Regions from separate parts of the Homo sapiens genome. Here regions 1, 3 and 4 are each linked to region 2. The links are contacts of gene promoters, found by promoter capture Hi-C in blood cells and fetal thymus (Javierre and others, 2016). All regions are on one chromosome and are shown on one strand. The core of a region is centred on a gene start or on the middle of the fragment in contact, and the rest is flanking DNA. Distances in the headings are between cores, read along the strand shown.

The links. Contacts are between HindIII fragments. The CHiCAGO score rates a contact against its expected background, and 5 or more counts as called.
Region 1: a fragment that was not itself captured here is called in contact with the fragment with the promoter of ATP6V1G3 in region 2 in 1 of 17 cell types (naive CD8 T cells); the score reaches 5.9 in naive CD8 T cells.
Region 3: a fragment that was not itself captured here is called in contact with the fragment with the promoter of ATP6V1G3 in region 2 in 1 of 17 cell types (activated CD4 T cells); the score reaches 5.4 in activated CD4 T cells.
Region 4: a fragment that was not itself captured here is called in contact with the fragment with the promoter of ATP6V1G3 in region 2 in 1 of 17 cell types (non-activated CD4 T cells); the score reaches 6.5 in non-activated CD4 T cells.

What each region holds. Positions count from the first base shown.
Region 1 is chr1:198,087,230-198,089,929 of GRCh38, reverse strand. No RefSeq gene overlaps it. Among named protein-coding and RNA genes, the nearest start is that of NEK7, 68 kb to the left of the region's middle. The HindIII fragment of the contact is 487 bases long and covers 1,026-1,512 here.
Region 2 is chr1:198,539,265-198,541,964 of GRCh38, reverse strand. It overlaps ATP6V1G3 (ATPase H+ transporting V1 subunit G3), which reads left to right and starts at 1,285. Exons shown (of 3, transcript NM_001376861.1): 1 at 1,285-1,396. The coding sequence starts at 1,315. The HindIII fragment of the contact is 10,140 bases long and covers 1-2,700 here.
Region 3 is chr1:198,181,707-198,184,406 of GRCh38, reverse strand. The region is part of intron 1 of NEK7 (NIMA related kinase 7); the gene reads right to left. Among named protein-coding and RNA genes, the nearest start is that of NEK7, 26 kb to the right of the region's middle. The HindIII fragment of the contact is 5,128 bases long and covers 1-2,700 here.
Region 4 is chr1:198,932,078-198,934,777 of GRCh38, reverse strand. The region is part of intron 1 of MIR181A1HG (MIR181A1 host gene); the gene reads left to right. Among named protein-coding and RNA genes, the nearest start is that of MIR181A1HG, 4.0 kb to the left of the region's middle. The HindIII fragment of the contact is 5,909 bases long and covers 1-2,700 here.

The DNA of each region.
Region 1 (2,700 bases), core at 20-2,519, 450 kb after region 2:
ACAGTAGATAGTGCTTTTGTGCTTAAAAGGAGAGCATTAAAATATATTTCATTTGTAGAATGGAAAGATTATGGAGACAACACAGCATTGTTATTTGGGAAAAAGAAATTATCAAAATTTGAAATATGTATATAGCATGATTTAATTTTTGTAATAAAATTGTGTGGAATAAAGGCTAGAATAAAATAACTCAACATGTCAATAGTGTTTCTCACTGAGTAAAGAGATTATAGATGATTTTAAATTTCACTACTATACATTCATCTTTATAATCAGAAATAAATACTATTTTAAGGTATTTCTATTAGTTTTCTAGAGATACCTAATTCAACCATACCTAATGAAATTTGAATCTTCTGACGTTTATATTAATGGAACTCATATTAAGAAAGTATGCTTAGTAAGGCAATAGCCAACTTGTTAAATATAAATTCACACTTGGTAAGAGGTTTAACCTCTTATAATGATGTTTATAAATTATATAATTAGAATCATTTAATATCCACTGTATACTTGAAACAATTTTTAAAAACAGCCTTGTGACCAATTATATTAACTTCATGTTTATATTAATTCTTAATTTTTAAAATAAAAGTCTATAGTTTCATTCCAAGTATCCTCTATAAAATAAAATATATGTACTGATAGATTGAAGAGAACTAAGAAGATAAATCATTTGCTATTAACAAAATTCTAATGCTTGAATCTCTTTTTGATAAAGTATAATTAACTGAATATAATTGTAACAGCCTGTGTCAGTGCACCCCTCTGTGAGTTAGTTCCTCAGGTAATTAATTTGTAGAGCATTTCCTTTGAGAGCTATTTCCCCTCCTACAATTCCTAGACTTTTTCCTTCTACAGAATGGTCAAGATAAACTACTCCTACTCCTTCAGAAGCACTTATGATTCAAGATTACAGAGGAATGTACTTAGAAAAATGTGCAGTGGAAAAAAGTACTTATATGCATACACACAGACTATGGTTACTGAAAAGTTCACTGAGAAAATATGGTGCTTATCAAGCTTACATACCCTCTCAGATGGCTGCCAGGTCAGGCCACTCAGTTCTCTTTTGCCTGGTTCCCCTCTGAAGTCTTGCCCCTGCGTGATGCTTCCAAGCCTCTACACTGCCAGAAATTCAGCCTAGAGAACCATGTTCAAACCATTTATTCAAACATGCTGACTGCCTCAGCATTTGGGCATGTTGTTAATCGCATCCCCTAAAGTTTATTCTCCACCACGTACAACACAGTGAAAAGCCACTAAAAGAAAAAGAGAGAGAGAACCTCTCCAGTCCTCCTGCTAGGACTGCTAAGTTTTTCAGTGCCTTTTCCTACACCATCACTTCTCAGAAAAAAATTCTCTCCACTCTGAAAGTTGGGGCAAGTTTCAAAACCTGGGTAGGTCTCCCCCTAGTGACAAAGTCAATTCATTTCTTCCAAAACACTTCTGTTTTCATATTTGATTATTTCCTAAAATGCAGGAGATAAATATTTTCCAGATTATGAAGCTTAGATTAAAATCAAAAGTGCTATGGAATTCATATGGACATTATTAATGAAAGTCCCGATTACACAGGAAATTAATACCACAATTTCAGCACTAAGGCATAAGTCATTAAAAACTCCAAAAATAGCCCTAAGGAGTTCTGGATTATTAGTGGCTTGGTATGTGGATGAAATCATAACTTAGTAGTAGAAAAATTGTGAAATTAATTCTCCCAACACCATTGATAGGTAGATATTATTCAGTATGTATTTTACTATGTATTATTTATTTATGAGAGTTAAAGAAACAAAGGCTCAGAGAGGCTAGTACAAAGGTGAGCCAGGGATTTGAATTTTGCCTATTGGATTTCCAAGACTTTGAACTCTGCACTGTCCTGTGTTAACCTAACCTTCCATGCCTCCCTACTCTCTGGCCTCCTGTTGTACTGATTCCAGCTGGAAAGTGACCCAGACCACATGCTTTTGGGCATTTTGTTCTAATAATTCCTGTTTACCCTTCAAGTTTATCTTAGTTGTTGCTTCCTCAAGGCAGCCTTCTCTTAACTCCTACGTTCCTATTTTATATAGCACCATGTACTATCTACTATTCCTATCACATTTCTAATCAAATAAAAAGATATATGATTGATAGGGTTTGGCTCTGTGTCCCCACCCAAATCTCATCTTGAATTGTAATCCCCATAATCCTCATGTGTTGAGGGAGGGATCTGGTGGGAAGTGATTGGATCATGGAGGTGGTTTCTCACATGCTGTCCTCTTGGTAGTGAGTGAGTTCTCACGAGATCTAATGGTTTTATAAGTGTTTGGCAGTTTCTTTTTCACTCTTTCTCTTTCCAGCCACCTTATGAAGAAGGTACTTGCTTCTTGTTTGCCTTCTGCCATGATTGTAAGTTTCCTGAGTTCTCTCCAGCCATGCAAAACTGTGAGTCAATTAAACTTCTTTCTTTCATAAATTACTGTCTTGGGTAGTATCTTTATAGCAGTGTGAGAACAGACTAATACAATGATTGAGTGTTGTCTACCTCTACCACCATGTCCTACATACCCCCAATTAAAGTTTCATGAAGGGAAGCACCTTGCACAGTGTAGGTGATCCATAAATATGTGTTAAATGAATGAATAAGTGAATGAATGAATGGATGAGCTAATGTCGCTCAAGCAAGTTGTGTTTCTGGTACCACTTTTTCTGTCA
Region 2 (2,700 bases), core at 36-2,535:
GTTTATCCCAGTTACACCAGGTATTTAATTACGCAATACAAATTAAGTACTTTATAAGCTGATTAAATGTGACTTCAAAAAAAAAAAAAAAAGTAAAAGTGATCCTGTGGAAAAGTTTTTCCTTTTGAAAATATTTGCTGAAAATGCACACATAATGTAGGCATGCAGATATGGATGAGACAACTTGAAAAGATTAGGAGAAAATAATCATTAAAGCCTTAAAAGATTTAGTGCCCAGATTGTTTTACAATTGTCTTTAAATCCAGACACCTTATTAAAGAAAATGAACCTGGCACTTACATATGAGGCAATAGAGGTATAGTTTATGAAAGCAATAATACGTGAAACCCCAATCTGCAAATCGTATCGGGGGGAAAGCCTTATTCTAAGTCAACAGATTAGCTTTTCACTTCAAATAAAAATTTTAGATACATATAAATGATACTTTGTGGTTCTTCTCTGTGACCAATATTCTGATTTGTCCAATTGCTACTGGATCGAATCAAATCAAGTATGATGGATTTTATTGTATTATCTTAGGACAATACTCACCACAAACACTGAATAATATAAAATGCATGTTTAAATTATTTTAACTTAATCCCAAAACCTACAGTTATAGTCTATTTCTATCATGATTACTACTACTAAAATTACTAATTGTTTAGTCACCATAGTAAGATCTTCCTGGAACTTCAACCTACAGCATTACTTAAGAGCAGCACAATGCCCAAAAGAAATCTTTTTATTCCAGTCACCTGAGACCTTGGGGGAAAAAAATCCTTAGTCCACCATCTATGCACAAAGCTAGGGAATCTCTTTCCTAACAAAAGATTAACACGTTTTCTCCAAGCAGATAACTGAATCACTAGAAACAAATAAAGAAAAAGACCTGAAACAAAGTACTGCAGGTACAAAGAGCAAAGATCTTGTTACTTAAAAGAAAAACTCAGTAAACATGTCAATGTTTCTTGGAAGATTAGGGAAACCAACATTCTTAAAAGGTCTCTTATTCATTATTTATAAGTAGATGCAACACCTCATTTATACCTCCTTATCTCATACAGAAGAGCTAAGATTGGCAGAAATGGTAAGTTCTCAATTTATGCACATTGGTTTAACTTGTTTTTCTAGATTCCACCTTGGGCTTTCCTTGGGACCCAGCTATCCAGCCCAATAAAGCCAGTTTGAAACAGCTGCATTTGGAACTTGCTGTTGACACAATAATCTGAGTTATATGTTAATTTCTAAAAGAATAAATGAACCCATTACTTCCCAGATTTCACAGAAGCCACTTGCTTGGAGCAGACTACCATGACAAGCCAGTCTCAGGGGATCCACCAGCTTCTTCAGGCAGAAAAACGGGCCAAGGACAAGCTAGAGGAAGCCAAGAAGAGTAAGTCTCACCTGTGAGGGGTCTGTCACGAAATAAACAAAGCAGTGGAATGCAGGGATAAGCATAGACTTTTGGATTAGGCAGACCTTGTTTCAAACTTTGGTTTACTGTACTCCCTGTGAGACCTTCACCCATTCATTAAAATTACCCAGCCATATGTTCCTTATTTCTAGAGCAGGGATGAAGTTTCCTCATTCAGATCCTTTTGAGAGGTCATGTGTTCATGGACATTAAGATTATAGAGATGTGGGCTTAAGCCTTGGCTATGCCATGCCTGTTTTCTCAACATTGTTAGGGGGTAGAAAACCTCTGGATTGAATCTACTTATTAGTGAGTAAACCTGAGCAAATTACTTATTTTTTATAAGCATCAGTTTTCATTTCCATAAAATCAGAATAATAATGGCTCATTCTCATCCCTCTCTTGGTAGCTTTTTAACATCTAATATTTTAAAATATTTTCATTTTATTCTCATTTTCTACCTCTCTTTTTATTTTTATTAATTTATTTTTTAAGAGATGAGGGTCTCACTATGTTGCCCTGGCTGAACTCCAACTCCTGGACTCAAGAGATCCTGCTGCCTCAGCCTGCCAAGTAGCTGGGACTACAGGCACTTGCCACTGTACTCAGCTCTCTTTTCATTTGGTCATGCATTCATGTACTTACATATAGAATGTCCTCAATGAACTTCAACACCTTTTCTATTCTCTTTGATACAACAGCCAAATGAATAGGATATTAACATTATTCCCAATGTATGCAGAAATGGAGTCACTGATTTGTTCAAGGTTATATTTTAAAAATAGAAAATATTGTGCCAGGCACCATGCTCATTGCTTATCTTTATTCCTCACAACCTTTACTGAAAAAGCAAAAGTGATGCTTAGAGAAATTATACAACTTGTCTAAGGTCACACAGAGGGTAAATGGTAGAGACAAGATTTAGATGAGCTATAATTTCCAAGCCCAGATCTTAACCACTGTGCTTTACAAAATTTACACAATTTGCATAATAAAAAAATTAATATGTCTCAGATCTACAACTGGAATTCAGATTCCCAAGGCCAAGACATTTTTTTCACTATCCCATTTCATATCACCTCATTATTCAATCTACAATAATTTGTAGTGTCATTCACTCTCCTTGTGTGTCCTGCCTCTGCAATTAGATTCAGTCTGGCAAAACAGGGGCCATATTTTCAAAATGTTACTTATGTAACTCTTTGGATGAATGTAGTGATGGGATTGGAGTAGGTACTGAATTATTTAAACGTAATGAATGAAATGAAGGAATATATTACAAC
Region 3 (2,700 bases), core at 88-2,587, 360 kb after region 2:
ATTTGTCTGTCAAACAGATCGACAGGAAGTTAAGCTAATCAACTGAAGAGATAATATTTAGAACTGTAAATCTACCCCTTCAAGAAAAATCGCACTGAGTCATAAACCAATTGTTATAAAGGATTCTTGTGTCTGAATAGGTGAAACATTCCATACATTTATTTATAATGTGTTTGTCATTTGTGAAAATTGCCCAGTGAATAAAGTCAAATCCTTGCATACTACGAGGGTAGCTAATATGGTGTGAAAAATTACTATTTTCACACTATACAGCAGTAATAACAAAACATTCTTCAAAAATTCTAAAATCTGGCATGTACAAATCTCATTATAAAATCATTTTAAAGAAAGCTGTTGTTAAGTAAACATCCAACTATTAAATGGACCAGATACCACCAACATACATAATGTTCAAGTAAGCCCAGGGTAGGCACCTACATTCCAAGATATCCACTTACAATATTTGTTAGGATAAAACGGAATAAAGGAAAGAAAAAAAATTGTTTTTACATTTTCTTCACCTGTTTCTTGAACCACTTCAGAATTATGAATGACATTAGACCATTAAAAACGTCTCGAGTCACATGCTATATTTATCACCACTGTGTTTCCAGTGCTCAGAACACCATAGGCACATAGCAGGCATGCAAATATTTGCTGAATGAATGAAAATATAATGCCTGCTTAACCCTGTTTCATCTTGATAAACTTAAAAAACATTGGTAAAAAGCTGCCTCTAAATGCTAATTTAGAGTCCAAAAAAAAAGCAGCAGAAATTTGAACATTTGTTGTATCAACTGACTAACACACATGTTTAGGACATTATTAACTAAAATGTTTATTTACTATAAGTCAGAAACATTTCAAAGTATAATATTTAGAGGGTCAGCATGCATAATACTCAATTGGCTGCAATTAAATCATCCTAGAATACCTCCTTCATTGTATCTTTCACTGTATCATTCTTTTTTAAAAAAACATTTCTGATGATTCTTCACAATCTTTACAATAAATTCCTTAGCCTGGAATTACAGGCCCCTATCTATTCAACGGAAATTTACTAAACTCCTCCTTTGAACCAGGCAGGTACTCAGAATGGTTCCATTAAAGAGCTCATGGCCTAGTGGAAGTAGTAGTATTCCGAAACATCTTCCAGAGACATCGCCACATGAAAAATCAAGAAAAATCTGAAGTTTCAGGCTACCAATGTAACCTCTAAAGACGGGTTTTCCAGATGGGAGTTATAGGGTTGATTTTTCATTTCACAAATACCACCATTTTGGCAGCTATAAAGAGAATGAATCAGAACCTCATGCCCCACTTATTTCTGCCAAACTGGCCCATTTTTGAGTTTCAGAAATCCTATTATAATTTCACCTACCACAATGGCCTCCTCTCAAAGCCAAGCACAAATCCCTATGCTTCCATGAGTTCTCATTCAAACCAAAGGAGACATCCCCTTCCTGTAGAAGGCCTATACTATGGTATACTCTAGTGGCACTAAGGGCCTTTCTTATATTGTTAATGACTACTATCAATCGGGATTATGAAGTCCATAACAACAAAGTCTGTAGTAGATTCCTCTGAATCTCCCATTATATCCAACACAGTTTTTTTTCCCATAATAAGCCTTCTCAGAGTACAACAAATAACTGTAATCAGTTGTACTATATTTTACTGAGCCATTAAAGTATGTAAAAATTATAAGTAGATGGTTAGCACGTAATAAAACAAAGAACAAAGAGTTTGAAAGTAACAGTTTCTAAAATCCAGAATACATAAGTAATGTTTCCAAAAAATAATTCCAAAATCCCTGCATTTTTTTCCAGATTAATTACTTTTCATACATGTAGAAATCAATGGCCACAGGCCTGGCAGCAAGAATACAAACCAGAAAACCAACCCCAGGTTGTGAACCATAATCATGGTTTTGGGCTGTAACAGGAAAGCTCTATCTCTCTCTCTCACATGCGCACACACATACACACACTTTTATTCACATCCATTCTCCCTCTCTCCAGTTCAAGGCCTAAGAGATTAAAACACCCTTGTCCATTTAGACACAGAAGCCAAAATAGGTCGACCTACTTAATATTTAATATATGATCTAAATGAAAGAGACAAATTAAGAATGGTGAAAACATTATTAATGTATGTGCAAGAACACCTTTCTAACTGAAAGCTGACCATCATTATCCACATCTCTAATTCTTCTTGGATTTACCATCTTGAAGTAAAAAATATTCATTACAGCCAACTATTGAGAAGATGATTATTCTGATGCCCTGCTATTCACTTCTACCTGTTGCCTACCTTTTTTATTATTTCACTCTTTATTTCCATCAACAGAGGTAAACCTGAAAATATCTACGCATATTTGAACATATCAAGTATATAAAGCCATTTTAAAATTATATATATATATCACTTTTTTCTATTAAAACAAGAAAAAACAGAATCCTAACAAATGAAATCATTTCATTAACTGACAAAGTTTAATGAAGTTTCTCCTTCAATTCAACCACTTACCCTCACATGTCATTTTTAAAGAAATGATTTGCTTTACTCTGTCAAATGTTAACAAAACACATTTTAAATTGGGTTCATAGATTAGTCCATCATCCAGTGAAATTTTTCAAATAATCATTTCTTCAGTAATGGCACTACATGAAATCTAAAAGTCATACAACATTACAAGTT
Region 4 (2,700 bases), core at 18-2,517, 390 kb before region 2:
TTCAATTTATTATGACTTGGTGTTTTTTATTCGCCACTTAACATTTTGTAACAATTAAATCCTTTTTACTTTTAACTTATTTCTTTAGGAGAGAACAGTTTTGTACCAATGATTTAGAAGTAATGCTCTCTCATGTGCTTTTATAAGGGTATATCTATGGATTAGATAGTAGTTGAATTAACTTTCGTGTGAGCTAGTTCAGGGTTTGTATTTATTTTCAAGTCTGTTTTATGGGTCTTATACTGGATAGTTACTCACCAAACATGTGCTCAGATTTTTATTAATGCACACATTTCAGTACATTATTTTATTTCACTCCAATAAAGTTTAATACTTTTACCAAAACATATTGCCAGATTTGAGAGGTAGATATAGAACAACTCTGTATACATTCTACCCCTTAACTACCAAGTTTTGATGTGTAATTTAAATTAATCTTCATTAGAATAGAATGACTGCTATACTTACCAGTTTTTACATACCACGTATCTGATACATGAGTTTTAAAATTTTGGAATTTGCTCTTAATACTTCTTCATTCTTGCGTACTAAAAAGCAATTAATCTGAAAGGAATTTCAAAGCATATATGTATAAACAGCACTACGTATATGTCAACAAATTAATAAGATTCATTTTGCCAATGTATTTTGTGACTGTTTTAAAACAAATGAAAAAATGTTTTGTTCTTTTTCTGCTTTCATGTTACTATTGTTAAGAAAAGTATGTAGCTAAAGAATTGACACATTTTGTACTTAGAGAAAACAAGCTACACAAGTTAGATGACAGTCTATAGGGTAAGACTCCACTATGAACTAATAAATAACTTCGTTAAGAAATTCTTGGCCTAACTCTGTAATTTTGACATAAACAGTTCTTCCAACATATAGTGGAAGATTGATGATTAATTATATAATTTCCTTATCAAAGATTAAAATGGGCAAATAGTTGTGTTTAAATTTTACCTACTTTCAAAAAACAATACATGACATTGCCCATTGGGTACAGGTTACTGAAAAGGCATCTTTCAAAGACAAGAAGATAATGGACTTGATTGAAATAGTTGAACTACGTAACGCCAATTCAAGAACAAATGGTTTTTCAGAGCATAACGGAGAAAGAACAATTTACTATAGTACAGTTTATTCTTCTTACACAATGGCAATGATTTATTTGAAATGGCAGAACAAACATAGTAGATATACAAAAACAACCAGTGGGCATTTTATGTCAAAGATATGTCAAGAGGCTTTTGTTTCATATATTAGAATATTTTAATCCAAGTATTTATCTGAAGACTTAGCTTAAATCTACATCGTTGTTTAGCATGTGCTGATATTATGATCATGTATGTCTCTTACATGCATGTAGCATATTTAGTATATATATATATGTATATATATATATAATGTATTTGAATATAGTCTTCTGACCCCAAATAATTGTTGTCACTTTATAATAAGAGTTCTTGAAGACTACTAATGTACTTCAATACAATAAAATTCAGATTGCGATATCAACTAGCTATGTCTATACTACCAGAAGGGCATTATCAGATATTGGATGAATTAATGTATTGATGTTATAATTACCACAAATACCTCATGTCAAAGAAGAATATCAAAAGATATGACTCTAATTTGACAAACAGTATAAAATGTGATTTTTAAAACCATCTCTGTTTCTTACTACCATGAAAATGATTTGCAAAAGAAGACTCAACACTTAAAATTTCTCTTCATGAAAAGAGAATTTTTTTTAACTTAGCCTTTAGGCATAGGGCCTGAAATTATTGTGAGTAGATACCTGAGCACTGTGCAGAGAATGCACAGGAACCTCAAGTTGCGATGAGAAAACAAGGGAAACTGGTTTGGCTGCTTTATGTTTCAAATTTTATTCTTGCAATCCTACATGACGACAATACTCAAAATTAATTTGAGTGAAAACTATCAAAGTTATTTTCACAATTTTCAAAAGATCCACTGTCTTGTTGACACTCTATGAAGGAAAAGTGTTCTAAAAATGATTGAATGTTCTACTGAGTGAAACTCAGTCAAGCTCAGTGAGGCGCTGGGGTCAAATGGGCTCATGAATCACAGATAGGAAATGAACTGTGTATTGCATATTTGAAAGTTTAAAAAGAAACATTTGGGATATTTTACCGTAAACAGATTTTGGTTTGATTTCTGGCACATCTTTTTAAACATCAAGACTGCAGTTCAGCTGAAATAACTTTTTATATGTATAGCTAAGACCAGATGGCCACGTGCTCCTTTCTTATTTAGATGAGACTTTTCCTTTCAATAACATCTTTCTTCCTGACCTGCTTAAAAATTCCAGCGAATGAAATCAGCACAGGATTTTCAATTCTAATTGACCATGTGCAGAGGAAGGGCCAGTAGAGAAATCAGTAGAGGCATTGTGAGGCTCACTGCCTCAGTTTTGTCTTTGTGTTTTACCATTACAAGCCAATCTAGACTAATCAAAAGCATTTAATTTTTATTAATATTAATATAGCTGCAAGATTTGTCTTCAATGAAAATTATTTGAGTTGGCTTTTTCTATCATTTTATCACAAGTAATTCTTTTAAGTTATTATTCGCTTACACAGTTTCAACTGTCTAGTAAGCACTTTATTGGTTAAAAAATAAAATATTGGTTGAATTAAGATGAAAGAATGGTTGTACTAAATTAATTTTTCT